2 separate regions of the Homo sapiens genome follow, and region 2 is linked to region 1. Evidence: promoter capture Hi-C in human tissues and cell types (Jung and others, 2019). All regions are on one chromosome and are shown on one strand. The core of a region is centred on a gene start or on the middle of the fragment in contact, and the rest is flanking DNA. Distances in the headings are between cores, read along the strand shown. Region 1 holds the start of CDC42EP1 (CDC42 effector protein 1). Region 2 overlaps EIF3L (eukaryotic translation initiation factor 3 subunit L).

Region 1 (5,519 bases), core at 693-3,192:
ACGTGGCACTTGCTGCCAACCACAGGGCACTGCTGGCCATCAGGTGTGCCTCACCTGGCACTGGAGTAAGCAGGGCTCCAAGTGTCCTGGTGCCAGGCTCACCTCCCCTCACCTGCTCAGGAACACCGCCCGTTAGTGTTCAGAACACCCCTTTCACAGATGGAAAAAACGAAGCTCAGAAAGGAGACATTTACCCTCAGTCACAGACCAACATTGCTGGTAAATGCCCCAGGGTGGGGGTGAAGACGATGGGGAATGGGGAAGACGATTTGGAGGGCTTGGATGCCCAGTGCTGAGCCCGGTGTGGGGTGCAGGTGCAGGCCTGGGAAGACAGGAGACCCAGCTCTGCAGATTCACTGCCTGTGACCTGGGCAAGGAGGTCACCACACAGCCTCAGTGTCCTTGGAGTCCTTATATTTACCCTATAGAGGATAGTCAGGGCCTGGGCACATGGCCTGAGCTCACTCAATGGTGGGAATGACGCAAGAACAAGTTTTGGAGCCGGGATCGGGCCAACAGGGGTCGCTGTGGAGGCACATGTGGTCGCGGGGAGGCCAAGGGCGGGTCTGAAGGAGAGCGGGGGCGGCTGCACCCTGGCATTCACCTGGGGGTCACCCGCAGGCCGCAGTGCTGGCCAGGGGCCCACGTCTCATCCTGGAGGCCACTGCTCGGGTGCACACAGCCCACTTCCTGCGGGCATCCAGCTGGGTGACGCCCCCCCCCACCGCTGGACAGCGGGTCCCTGTCATGGTTACGGCAGCTCCCCCAAACCTGCTCTGGTCCCTGGAATAAGGGGTTAAACCGGTCGGCTGACTTCTCCTGCTCCTCAAAGTCCAGACGCTTCAAGGTGGAGAGACGGGGAAACTGAGGCCAGAACGGGGTAGCTAGTTGTTCGCAGTCGCGCTAGGGGACCCGGTCCTCCGTATTCCAAGGGGGGCACCGTGGGCCATTAGGGAGCGACGGGGAAAGTGGAAAGGAGACGCGCTTCGTGCCCACCGCCCCGAGTTAGAGCCGAACCAGCCCGGGACCGAGCGAGACGGAGCGGCTGCGGGCCGCGTCTCGGGTCCCCGCGCCACGTTTAGTGCCGCTGCGGCCTCCCGGCCAGTCCCCCCTACTCTCTAAGCCTCAGTTTCCCGGTCTAGGAAAAGGGCTTCGAATGTTGCGGGTCTGGCACTGCTGGGGCAAAGGCAGAACAATCTGGAGGGCGGCCGGGATTGGAAGTCCGGGAAAGACTTCGGCCATCCAACATTCCCTGGGGGGACGGGGCTCAGGACGCGGAGGGTCGCTCCGCGGGGGAAGGGGACGACCGGCTGTCTTGGCCGGAGGGGAACCGGACGGGATGACCTCATCCGCGGCTCCAGCCTGGAATGCGGCGGTCGGGGAGGGGGGCAGGGTGCCTGTCCATCTCCCCGGGCCCCCCACCCCCCACTTCCCGCTCTCCGCGTGGGCCTCGGCGGAGGGGAGACATTCCGCCGCGTCGCCCGCTGCCCGCCCCGGCCCTTCCTTCCCCCGCGCAGGAAGGCGCGGAGACAGCCCCCGCTCTGCCCCTCGGCTCGCCCCCTCCTCGCGCATTTTGGCCGCTCAGCCGTGTCCGATCCTCTGCCCCCTCCACCAGCCTGGAACGGGACACGAAGCCCGAAAGCTCGGAGTTTCCTCGCGCGGCTCCGCGGCCGCGCCCGGCCTTCCTGTGGGCACCCGGGGGCGCCTCTCCCGGGCGGGTCCCGTCCCCGTTCCGGCCCCGGGAGCCTAGTAGGGTGCAGAGTCCCCGCGGGCGCCGGGACCCGCCGGCCTCCACGGCCTCCGCCCCGAGGACCCGCGCGCCCGGGCTGTTACCTGGCTCCGCGAGCCCCGGGGGCGCGGGACGAGGGCGGACTCGTCGTCTGCAGCGGCGGCGGCCGCGCGTCCCGGCTGGCAGCCCGGGAGAGTCGCTGGGCCGGTCTGCGCCGCCCTGGCCGCGGGCTCCGCGGGCTGGATCCGGGGGCGGGGGCGGGGTGTGGGCGCTCCCGCCTCCCGCCCGTCTCCTCCCGCCCGCGGGCGGGGCCCGGCCCCCTCCCCGGCCCCCTCCCCGGCACCGTCCTCGCGGCCGCCGAGAGCTGGCAGGGACGCGGCTGGGGGGCCAGGCCAGGCCTCTGCTCGCCACCCCGGACAAGGCCAGCCGGGGAACGTGCGGGCTGCCCCGGGGAGGCGACTCCGGTCCCCGGCCGCCAACCCCTCTTCCACCGGTTCCCCTCGTGGCCTTGCTTGGGGCGTCCAGGCCTGATGAACTCTCCTCCCTCCTGGGCCCTCCAGCCGCGCCCTGCGGGAGTTCGGGGAACCGGGAAGCTCGATCTGAGGCCTTGAATGCCTGGGCCTTTAAACCTTGATGTTTACAGGCATGACATGCCCACTCCTTTGCTCCCCATTCTCATTCCCTTCCATCCGGTACAGGCCCCGCGGTGCCCAGGAGGAAGACAGCCATACTGGGGCGACTGGTAGAGTGGGGTAGAGTGGCCGTCAAGACCGGGACCCTGGAGCCGGACAGCCTGGGCTCCTGTCCTGCCTCAGTCACTACTTACCTTTCTCTGCCTCAGTTTCCTGATCTGAAAGTGGGATAGATAATAGCAGCATCAGATGTTGTGTGAAGTGTTTCCTGCTCCAAGAGCACCTAGGAGGCTTGCTCGGCAGGTAAATGAAGTCGCATCTCAGAGACTTTACAGACCCTCCCCCCACCCCGCCCACCTCCATGGAGGGCAGGGAATCAGCCATACCCGGGACCCTGTGCCATCCTCAAGGAGGGGAGATAGATCTCTGGCCCCTGCCTCCCGTTGTTGTGCCCTCCTTTGACTACTCCCATCTGACTATAGAGTCCTCGGGCTGTCAGGGCACAGAGAGGTCCCTAATACTTCCTGCAGGGCCTGGGGGCTCAGGAAATCTTCCTAGAGGAGATGATACCTGAGTTAAGTCTCTCTCTCTCTCTTTTTTTTTTTTTTTTTTTTTTTTTTTTTTTTTTTTTTTTTTTTGAGACGGAGTCTCTCTCTGTTGCTCAGGCTGGAGTGCCATGGCATGATCTCAGCTCACTGCAGCTTCCACCTCCCGGGTTCAAGCGATTCTCCCTCCTAAGCCTCCGGACTAGCTGGGATTACAGGCACCCACCCACGCCCGGCTAATTTTTGTATTTTTTAGTAGAGAGGGGGCTTCACCATGTTGGCCAGGCTGGTCTTGAACTCCTTACCTCAGGTGATCCGCCTGCCTTGGCCTCCTCAAGTGCTAGGATTATGGGTGTGAGCCACTGCATGGTTGTGAGTTAAGTCTTAAAGGACGTGTAGGCAGAGGGAAGGGCAGTGGAAATGCACAGTGCACAGCTGGCAAGGGACAGCACAGCAAAGGCTGGGAGTGGAGGACCCTGCAGCGGAGGCAAACCCGGCTGAAGGAGACTGGCTGAGCGCTGTTGTGGCCGGGGATGAGGAGCTGTATTTACCCGCAGGTGGAGGAGACAAGGTCTTTACTGTTCACCCAGGGGCTAGGCCTCTTCCACTGGCTCCCTGAATCCCCATGCTGGCCACCAAGGGAAGGAGCTATTTCTGCAGCTGGACAAATGAGGAAACAGAGGCACAAAGCATTCTAGCATTTGCTCAAGTGGCACAGCAGTAGGAACTCTTTCCCTGGGGGCCGGCCCAGGAGTATTTTGTCCCATGGAGAACTGGAACAGCATCAGGACAGTGAGCCAGCAGGCAGCACTGGCAGGTGTACATTTAGAAGACTGACTGTTGCCCGGCGTGGTTGCTCACGCCTGTAATCCCAGCACTTTGGGAGGCTGAGGTGGGCAGATTACTTGAGGCTGGGAGTTTGAGACCAGCCTGACCAATATGGTAAAACTCCGTCTCAACTAAAAATACAAAAATTAGCCAGGCGTGGTGGCGGGTGCCTGTAATCCCAGCTACTCGGGAGGCTGAGGCAGGGAGAATTGCTTGAACCTGGGAAGCGGAGGTTGCAGTGAGCTGAGATCGCACCACGGCACTCCAGCCTGGTCAACAGAGCGAGACTCCATCTTAAAAAATAAAAATAAAAAAGTGCCGGGCGCGGTGGCTCACACTTGTAATCCCAGCACTTTGGGAGGCCGAGGCGAGCAGATCACTTGAGGTCAGGAGTTCGTGACCAGCTTGGCCAACATGGTGAAATCCTGTCTCTACTAAAAATACCAAAAATTAGCCGGGCATAGTGGTGGGCGCCTGTAATCCCAGCTATTCAGGAGGCAGAGGCAGGAGAATTGCTTGAATCTGGGAGACGGAGGTTACAGTGAGCTGAGATCGTGCTACTGCACTCCAGCCTGGGCGACAGAGCGAGACCCCATCTCAAAAAAACAAAAAACAAAATAGAAATCTGACTGTGAGTGAAGAATGGACTGGAAGGACAGTGATGGAAACAAAGAACTAGTGCTACTGTGGTTATTACTATTAATAGCATCAGTAGTAACCAGCACTTATTGAGCACCTGATGCATACCAGGTCCTGTAGCTCATTAACATGCATTATGACATTTAATTCTTGTGAGAGCCCCATAGGGAAAGTCCTGCCATGGTGTCCCTTTTGCAGATAAGTGAAGTGATTTGCGTAAAGCTCCCTACTTTGGCAGGATGGCCATACTTTCCAGTTTGCCTAGGACAGCCCAGATTACACATACTGTTCCAGTGTAATTATTAATAGCACTTCCTTTCATTCTCAAAGGTGACCTGGTTAGACAATCAATTACACGTCACTCTAGTCAGAGGATCCCTAGAGCGGCTGGTAAAGGAGGCAGTCTGGTGCAATGTCAAAGGCCCTGAGCTCAAATCCTGGCCCAGTGGCTGACCGTGGGCAAAGCACTTGGCCCATTTGAGCCTCAAGTTTCTCATCTCTGAAATGGGTATAATAGCAGTGTGGGTATTTACTAGTTGGGGTGTTGTGAGCCCCAGGCAGATGACTGAGCAAGCAGTCCTGATGGAAGTGGTTACAACCTGCCCCATGCTTGCTCCATCTTCTTCACCCGCGGGCAGGGAGGGCAGGCAGGAAAGAACAAGAGGTTGAGAACCTCCCTACTATATATGCCACACGCTTTGTCTTCTCCAGCTCATTGACAGGCAACCTGTGAATCAGGAATTCTTGCCCCCTTTTACATCTGGGTAAGCTGAGGCAGAGAGGAGCCCTCTCCCTCCTTTGCAGCCTGCCTCCAGATAGAAACCTATCTCCATGTAGGCTGTGCCCTTGTTCCTGGCTCCACTCCTGATTTAAGGATCTGACTCAGTTTTTCCCTCTGGAAAACGGGAGAAAGGGAGAAGTTTCAATATCCCCAAGAAGGATCCAGGGTTGGGCAGTCTCCCTTTATCATGCTTTTCTCCTCCCCCAATTTCCTGCGGTCCCCTTCCTTCCCTTTGAGAGGCTGTGCCCAGGAGTGCAGGGGTTAACCTTGGCAGGGCTGTAATCATCGTGCAGAATGCAGAACAAATGCCTCCCAGCTGGGGACGGGGAGCTGCTAGGTGAACCAACCGCCCAGAGCTCAGGATC
Region 2 (6,309 bases), core at 1,204-3,703, 320 kb before region 1:
TCCTGCCTCAGCCTCCCAAGTAGCTGGGACTACAGGCACCCGCCACCACGCCCAGCTAATTTTTGTATTTTTAGTAGAGATGGGGTTCACCATATTGGCCAGGACGGTCTTGATCTCCTGACCTCGTGTTCCGCCTAGCTCGGCCTCCCAAAGTGCTGGGATTACTTGCGTGAACCAACGCGCCCGGCTTATCATGCAAATTATGTATAAAAATTATGTTTTTTTCTTTTTTTGAGACAGTCTCTCACTCTGTTGCCCAGGCTGGAGTGCAGTGGCACAATCTCGGCTCACTGCAGCTTCTGCTTCCCAGGTTCAGGTGATTCTCGTGCCTCAGCCTCCCGAGTAGCTGGGATTACAGGAACGCACCACCATGCCCGGCTAATTTTTTAAATATTTTTAGTAGAGACGGGGTTTCACCATGTTGCACAGGCAGGTCTTGAACTCCTGACCTCTGATGATCTACCCACCTTGGCCTCCCAAAGTGATAGGATTACAGGTATGAGCCACTGCACTCAGCCTAAAATTATGTATTTTTAAGAACTGCTCAAAAAGTGCTATTTCCAACAATACATTTAGACCAAAATGCTTTTTCTCTTTTTTTCAAGATGCAGTCTCATCTCTGTCACAAAGGCTGGAATGCGGTGGCTTGATCTCAGCTCACTGCAACCTCTGTCTCTTGGGCTCAAGTGAGTCTCCTGTCTCAGCCTCCCAAGTTACTGGGATTACAGGCATGTGCCACCATGCCTGGCTAATTTTTATATTTTTAGTAGAGACAGGGTTTCACCATACTGGCCAGGATGGTCTTGATCTCCTGACCTCAGGTGATCCACCCGCCTTGGCCTCCCAAAGTGCTGGGATTACAGGCGTGAGCCATCATGCCCAGCATGCTTTTTCTCTTTTTAAAAAGTAGAGACAGGGTCTTGGTTTGTTGCCCAGGTTGGTCTTGAACTCCTGGGCTCAAGCAATTCTCCTGCCTCGTCCTTCCAGAGTATTGGGATTATAGCTATAAGCCACTGTACCTGGCCCAAAATGCTTTCAAAAACAATTAAAAATGCAGGATATTAGAAAAAAACTTACAGCATCAAAGAGCTGACAAGATAGTAACAGAACATTTTGGGAAAAAAGAAACCATTCTAAGAAAAGCACAGAAGACCCCCTCTGCCCTATGGACATTTGCTGATCTTAGAAAACCTGGGCTGACGGCCGTGTGTGGTGGCTCATGTCTGTAACCCCAGCACTTTGGGAGGCCGAGGCGGGCAGATCACCTGAGGGCGGGAGTTCGAGACCAGCCTGACCAAGACGGAGAAACCCTGTCTCTACTAAAAATACAAAATTAGCTGGGCATGGTGGCGCATCCCTGTACATCCCAGCTACTCGGGAGGCTGAGGCAGGAAAATCGCCTGAACCCGGGAGGCAGAGGTTCCGGTGAGCCAAGATTGTGCCATTGCACTCCAGCCTGTGCAACAAGAGCAAGACTCAGTCTAAAAAAAAAGAAAACAATTCTTTTAAAAACCTCATCAGCTCATCAGCGCCTGTAGTCCCAGCTAATCAGGAGGCTGAGACAGAAGGATTGCTTGAACCCAGGAGGCGGAGGTGGCAGTGAGCCAAGATCACATCACTGCACTACAGCCTGAGTGATACAATGAGACTCTGTCTCTAAATAAATAAATAAAAATGAAAATCTCATCAGACATTAAAATGTCCAGCTTGAACTTAAAAGTGCCAGTGAAAACTAACACTGTTCTTCAACCCACCTCCCCTCCTGAGAGGAAGCTACTGCTATGTTGCTTGTGTATCCTTCTGGAAAGAACTTGAGGCATACATAGGCATATATAAATGTATTACTAGCCACTCTGTAAAAACCTTACTTGTATTTTTTGTAATATACAAACCATCCAAACGTTAATCAATGGGAGAATGGATAAACTGCAGTACAATAACAACAGCAGATGCTGGACTATCACAGAACAATAAACATGAAGGAATCACTGCTACACACAATGGACGGTGACTCACTCAATTATAACGTTGAGCAAAAGAAGCCAGACTTAAAGAGTACATACTGTGTAATTCCATTATATAAAGTTCACAAACAGGCAGCACTAATCCAAGATGTTAGACATCAGGACAGGACAGGCGCAGTGGCTCACACCAGTAATCCCAGCATTTTGGGAGGCCAAGGTAGGAGGATCACTTGAAACTAGCCTGGGCAACAAAGTGAGACCCTGTTTCTATAAAGTAAAAACTTAAAATCGGCTGGGAACAGTGGCACATATCAGAGTTCGAGACCAGGCTGGGCAACATGGCCAAACCCCATCTCTACTAAAAATACCAAAAATTAGCCAGTCGTGGTGACGTGCGCCTGTAATCTCAGCTACTTGGGAGGATGAGGTAGGACAATCACCTGAACCCAGGAAGTTGAGGCTGCAGTGAGCTGAGATCACACCACTGCACTCCAGCCTGGGCAACCAGAGTGAGACCTTGTCTCAAAAAAGAGAGCCGGATGCAGTGGCTCACGCCTGTAATCTCAGCACTTTGGTAGGCCGAGGTGGGTGGATCACGAGGTCAGGAGATTGAGACCATCCTGGCTAACACAGTGAAACCCCGTCTCTACTAAAAAATACAAAAAATTAGCCAGGTGTGGTGGCGGGTGTCTGTAGTCCCAGCTACTCGGGAGGCTGAGGCAGGAGAATGGCGTGAACCTGGGAGGTGAAGCTTACAGTGAGCTGAGATCGCGCCACTGCACTCCAGCCTAGGCGACAGAGCGAGACATCTCAAAATAAAATAAAATAAAATAAAAATAAAATAATACCGGGCGCGATGGCTCACGCCTGTAATCCTAGCACTCTGGGAGGCCGAGGCGGGCGGATCACAAGGTCAGGAGTTGGAGACCAGTCTGGTCAACATAGTGAAACCCTGTCTCTACTAAAAATACACAAAATATTAGCTGGGTGTGGTGGTGTGAGCCTGTAATCCCAGCTACTCAGGAGGCTGAGGCAAGAGAATCGCATGAACCCGGGAGGCAGAGGTTGCAGTGAGCCAAGATCGTGCCACTGCACTCCAGCCTGGACGACAGAATGACACTCCATCTCAAAAAAAAAAAAAAAGCTTTGTGCAGTGGCAGTATGGCCAATGAGGGTTATGTGAGGTGTGATTATTGCTAACTAAAAATAAAAAAATAAAGAAGGCAGCAGGACAATGGCTTCCCACTTGTAAAGTACTCCAACAGTATACAAAGCACCATCCCCCTTTCTCCAATCTCATCTTCACAGCCTCCTTTCTCAGGCTACTCGGGCATACTACAACTGTCCCTTAAACTTATTGGCCTCACTCCTCTTCGGGGCCTTTGCTCTAACTGTTCCTCTGCCTGGAAGGCTCTTCCTCCAGATATCTGGTGAGCTATTTTTTTTTTTTTTGAGACGGAGTGTCGCTCTGTTGCCAGGCTACAGTGCAGTGCAGCGATCTCAGCTCACTGCAACCTCCGCCTCCTGGGTTCAAGTGATTCTCCTGCCTCAGCCTCCCGGGTAGCTGGGACTACAGGTATGCGCCACCATGCCCAGCTAATTTATTTTTAGTAGAGATGGGGTTTCACCATGTTGGCTAGGATGGTCTTGATCTCTTGACCCCATGATCTGTCCATCTCGGCCTCCCAAAGTGCTGGGATTACAGGCATGAGCCACCGTGTCCAGCCTTTGGTGAGCTATTAAGAACTCTCCACCAGATGGATCGCTTCAGGTCAGGAGTTTGAGACTAGCCTGGCCAACATGGCAAAACCCTGTCTCTACTAAAAATACAAAAATTAGCCAGGTGTGGTGGCGGCCTCTTATAATTCCAGCTACTCAGGATGCTGAGGCAGGAGAATTGCTTGAACCTGGGAGGCGGAGGTTGCAGGGAGCCGAGATTGCACCACTGCACTCTAGCCTGGGCGACAGACCAAGACTGTCAAAAAAAAAAAAAAAAAAACCAAAACACTACTCCCTCACCTCCTTCAAGTCTTAGCTTAGCTTAAACTTCACTTTCTCAACAAAGCCTGTCTGAACACCGTATTTAACATTGCAACCTGTGCTTCCCACCACCTCTGCCTTCCTTTACTCTGCAGTGCTTGGCAACTTCTTACTACATAGTTTGTTTAATTATAACATCTATTGTTTAATTATAACATCTATTGTTGGTAATCCCAGCACTTTGGGAGGCCAAGGCTGGCTGATCACCTGAGGTTGGGAGTTTGACACCAGACTGACCAACATGGAGAAACCCCATTTCTACGAAAAATACAAAATTAGCTGGGCATGGTAACACATGCCGGTAATCCCAGCTACTCAGGAGGCTGAGGCAGGAGAATGGCTTGAACCTGGGAGGCGGAGGTTGCGGTGAGCCGAGATCGTGCCATCACATTCTAGCCTGGGCAACGAGAGCGAAATTCCATCTCAAAAAAAAAACCAAAACAAAACCATCTATTGTTTATCTCTTGTGTTTTTTTTTTTTTTTTTTTAATAGAGAAAAGGTCTCACTACGTTGCCCAGGCTGGTCTTGAACTCCTGGGCTAGAGTGATCCTCCCACCCCAGCCTCCCCTAAAGTACTAGTATTACTGGCATGAGCCACCACACCTGGCACCTTGTGGCAGCACCACAAGGCCAGGAATCTTTTTGTTCCCCGATATACTTCATGTGCCCACAATAGTGAATGAAAGATACTGAACACTTAATACAAGACCCCAAGCCCAGGGGACAGGCATACCTTATCAATGTAGAAGTCAACCTCTGAGGCTGACTGAAATTCACCATCCAGGGCTGAGATACCGCTGGTCCACACGAGGTTCTTCATCTTGTGTTTGAAGACAAGAAGCTGGATCCGGAACTCCTGCTCTGTGAGGTCCAGGAAGCCAGCCAGCTTGGCCACAGGCATGGTGGTGTAGAGCTTCAGGAAGCTGCGGATGGTTGAAAGCTGGGCCTGCTGCTGTACTTCATCAGAAAACACCTTCAGCTGCTGCAGGAAGGGCTCTTTGTGGTAGTTGGGGTGCACATTATCATAGTTGGGCACTACAGGCGACAGGAACTTGGGGCAGGAGTAACTGAAAAGTTCTTCATAGACTTGTGGGTCACCTTTCTGCATGCGCAACATCTTGTCCCCATATTTCTCCCGCAGCTGGAGGTGAATGCTCTCATCAATACGCATGGGGTACATCGTGAGGGCAATGGCCAGCAGCGCATGCATCTGCTCATTCTGCTTGTTAATCTGGGGATGGGGTGGAGAGTGGTACTGGGTCAAATGAGACGGACTTCCTGAGGTCCCCACTGCCAACTGGCCTCACCATTCTCTGCACAGATCTTTGACTTACCCAGTTGTTTCATACCAGCCATTGAACTTCCCCAACATCTCTTCCAATCCTCCCTCTAGATCTACCTAACTTCCATCCTAGCTCCAGATCCTCCTTAGCCATCTTCTGGATTCCTTACTGGCACCTCTGTCTTAGTCTCTCCAGTTTGTCCCACACATCACTAGCAGGTCAATCCTTTTACACAGTTAGGATCGAGTTACCCAAAACCTTTGATGCAACCTTGATGACGACAGAAATATAGACTAAATAGTAATGTGCCGTGCAACAGCGTTTCAGTCAACAACGGGCCATGGGCCACATATAGGATGGTGATCCTGCAAGATTATAATCCTGTATTTTTACTGTATCTTAGATACACAAATACCTTTGTGTTACAACTGCCTATGGTATTCAGTACAGTAATATGTTCTAGACGTTTGTAGCCAAGGAGCCATAGGCTATACCATGTAGCCCGGGTATGTAGTAGGTTATCCCATCTAGGTTTGTGTAAGTACATTCTATGATGTTCACACAACAAAATCACCAAATGATGCATTTCTCAGAATGTATCTGCAGCATCAAATGACACAGGACTATACTTTACCTGGGTTAATGAAGGTTCTCAGAATCTAATAACCCAATTCCTACTACCTACTTGCCCTCCAGCCAGAACAGTTTATTGTGCGGCTGCATCACCACACTTTCAAGTCTCAACCACTTTGCTCATGATATTCTCTGCCTAGGAAGCTCCTCCCAATTCTTGAACCCATCCTCCTTCCCACCAATATCCACACCTTATATCAAAACATTTAGAACCCAGTGAACACTCAGCATACTGATGCTGAATAAATAAATGTAGGCACTGCTGGAGGATATAACTGAAACAAAAGATATTATCATCAAGTCCTTATCATCAAGATGTTAATGATCTGAGGTAACAGGCATCACAACAGAAACTCCTAAGAGTATGCTAGCCATTAAAAGTTCATTT

Evidence for each region. Contacts are between HindIII fragments. The study calls those that stand out against the background at their distance.
Region 2: a fragment that was not itself captured here is called in contact with the fragment with the promoter of CDC42EP1 in region 1 in 1 of the 25 tissues and cell types used here (liver).

What each region holds. Positions count from the first base shown.
Region 1 is chr22:37,556,903-37,562,421 of GRCh38, reverse strand. CDC42EP1 (CDC42 effector protein 1) reads right to left here and starts at 1,942. Exons shown (of 3, transcript NM_152243.3): 1 at 1,834-1,942. RefSeq lists enhancers at 1-91, 394-623, 92-699, 700-1,306. The HindIII fragment of the contact is 19,033 bases long and covers 1-5,519 here.
Region 2 is chr22:37,876,601-37,882,909 of GRCh38, reverse strand. EIF3L (eukaryotic translation initiation factor 3 subunit L) reads right to left here. Exons shown (of 13, transcript NM_016091.4): 11 at 4,739-5,236. Among named protein-coding and RNA genes, the nearest start is that of MICALL1, 27 kb to the left of the region's middle. RefSeq lists a silencer at 2,673-2,832. The HindIII fragment of the contact is 6,851 bases long and covers 1-5,878 here.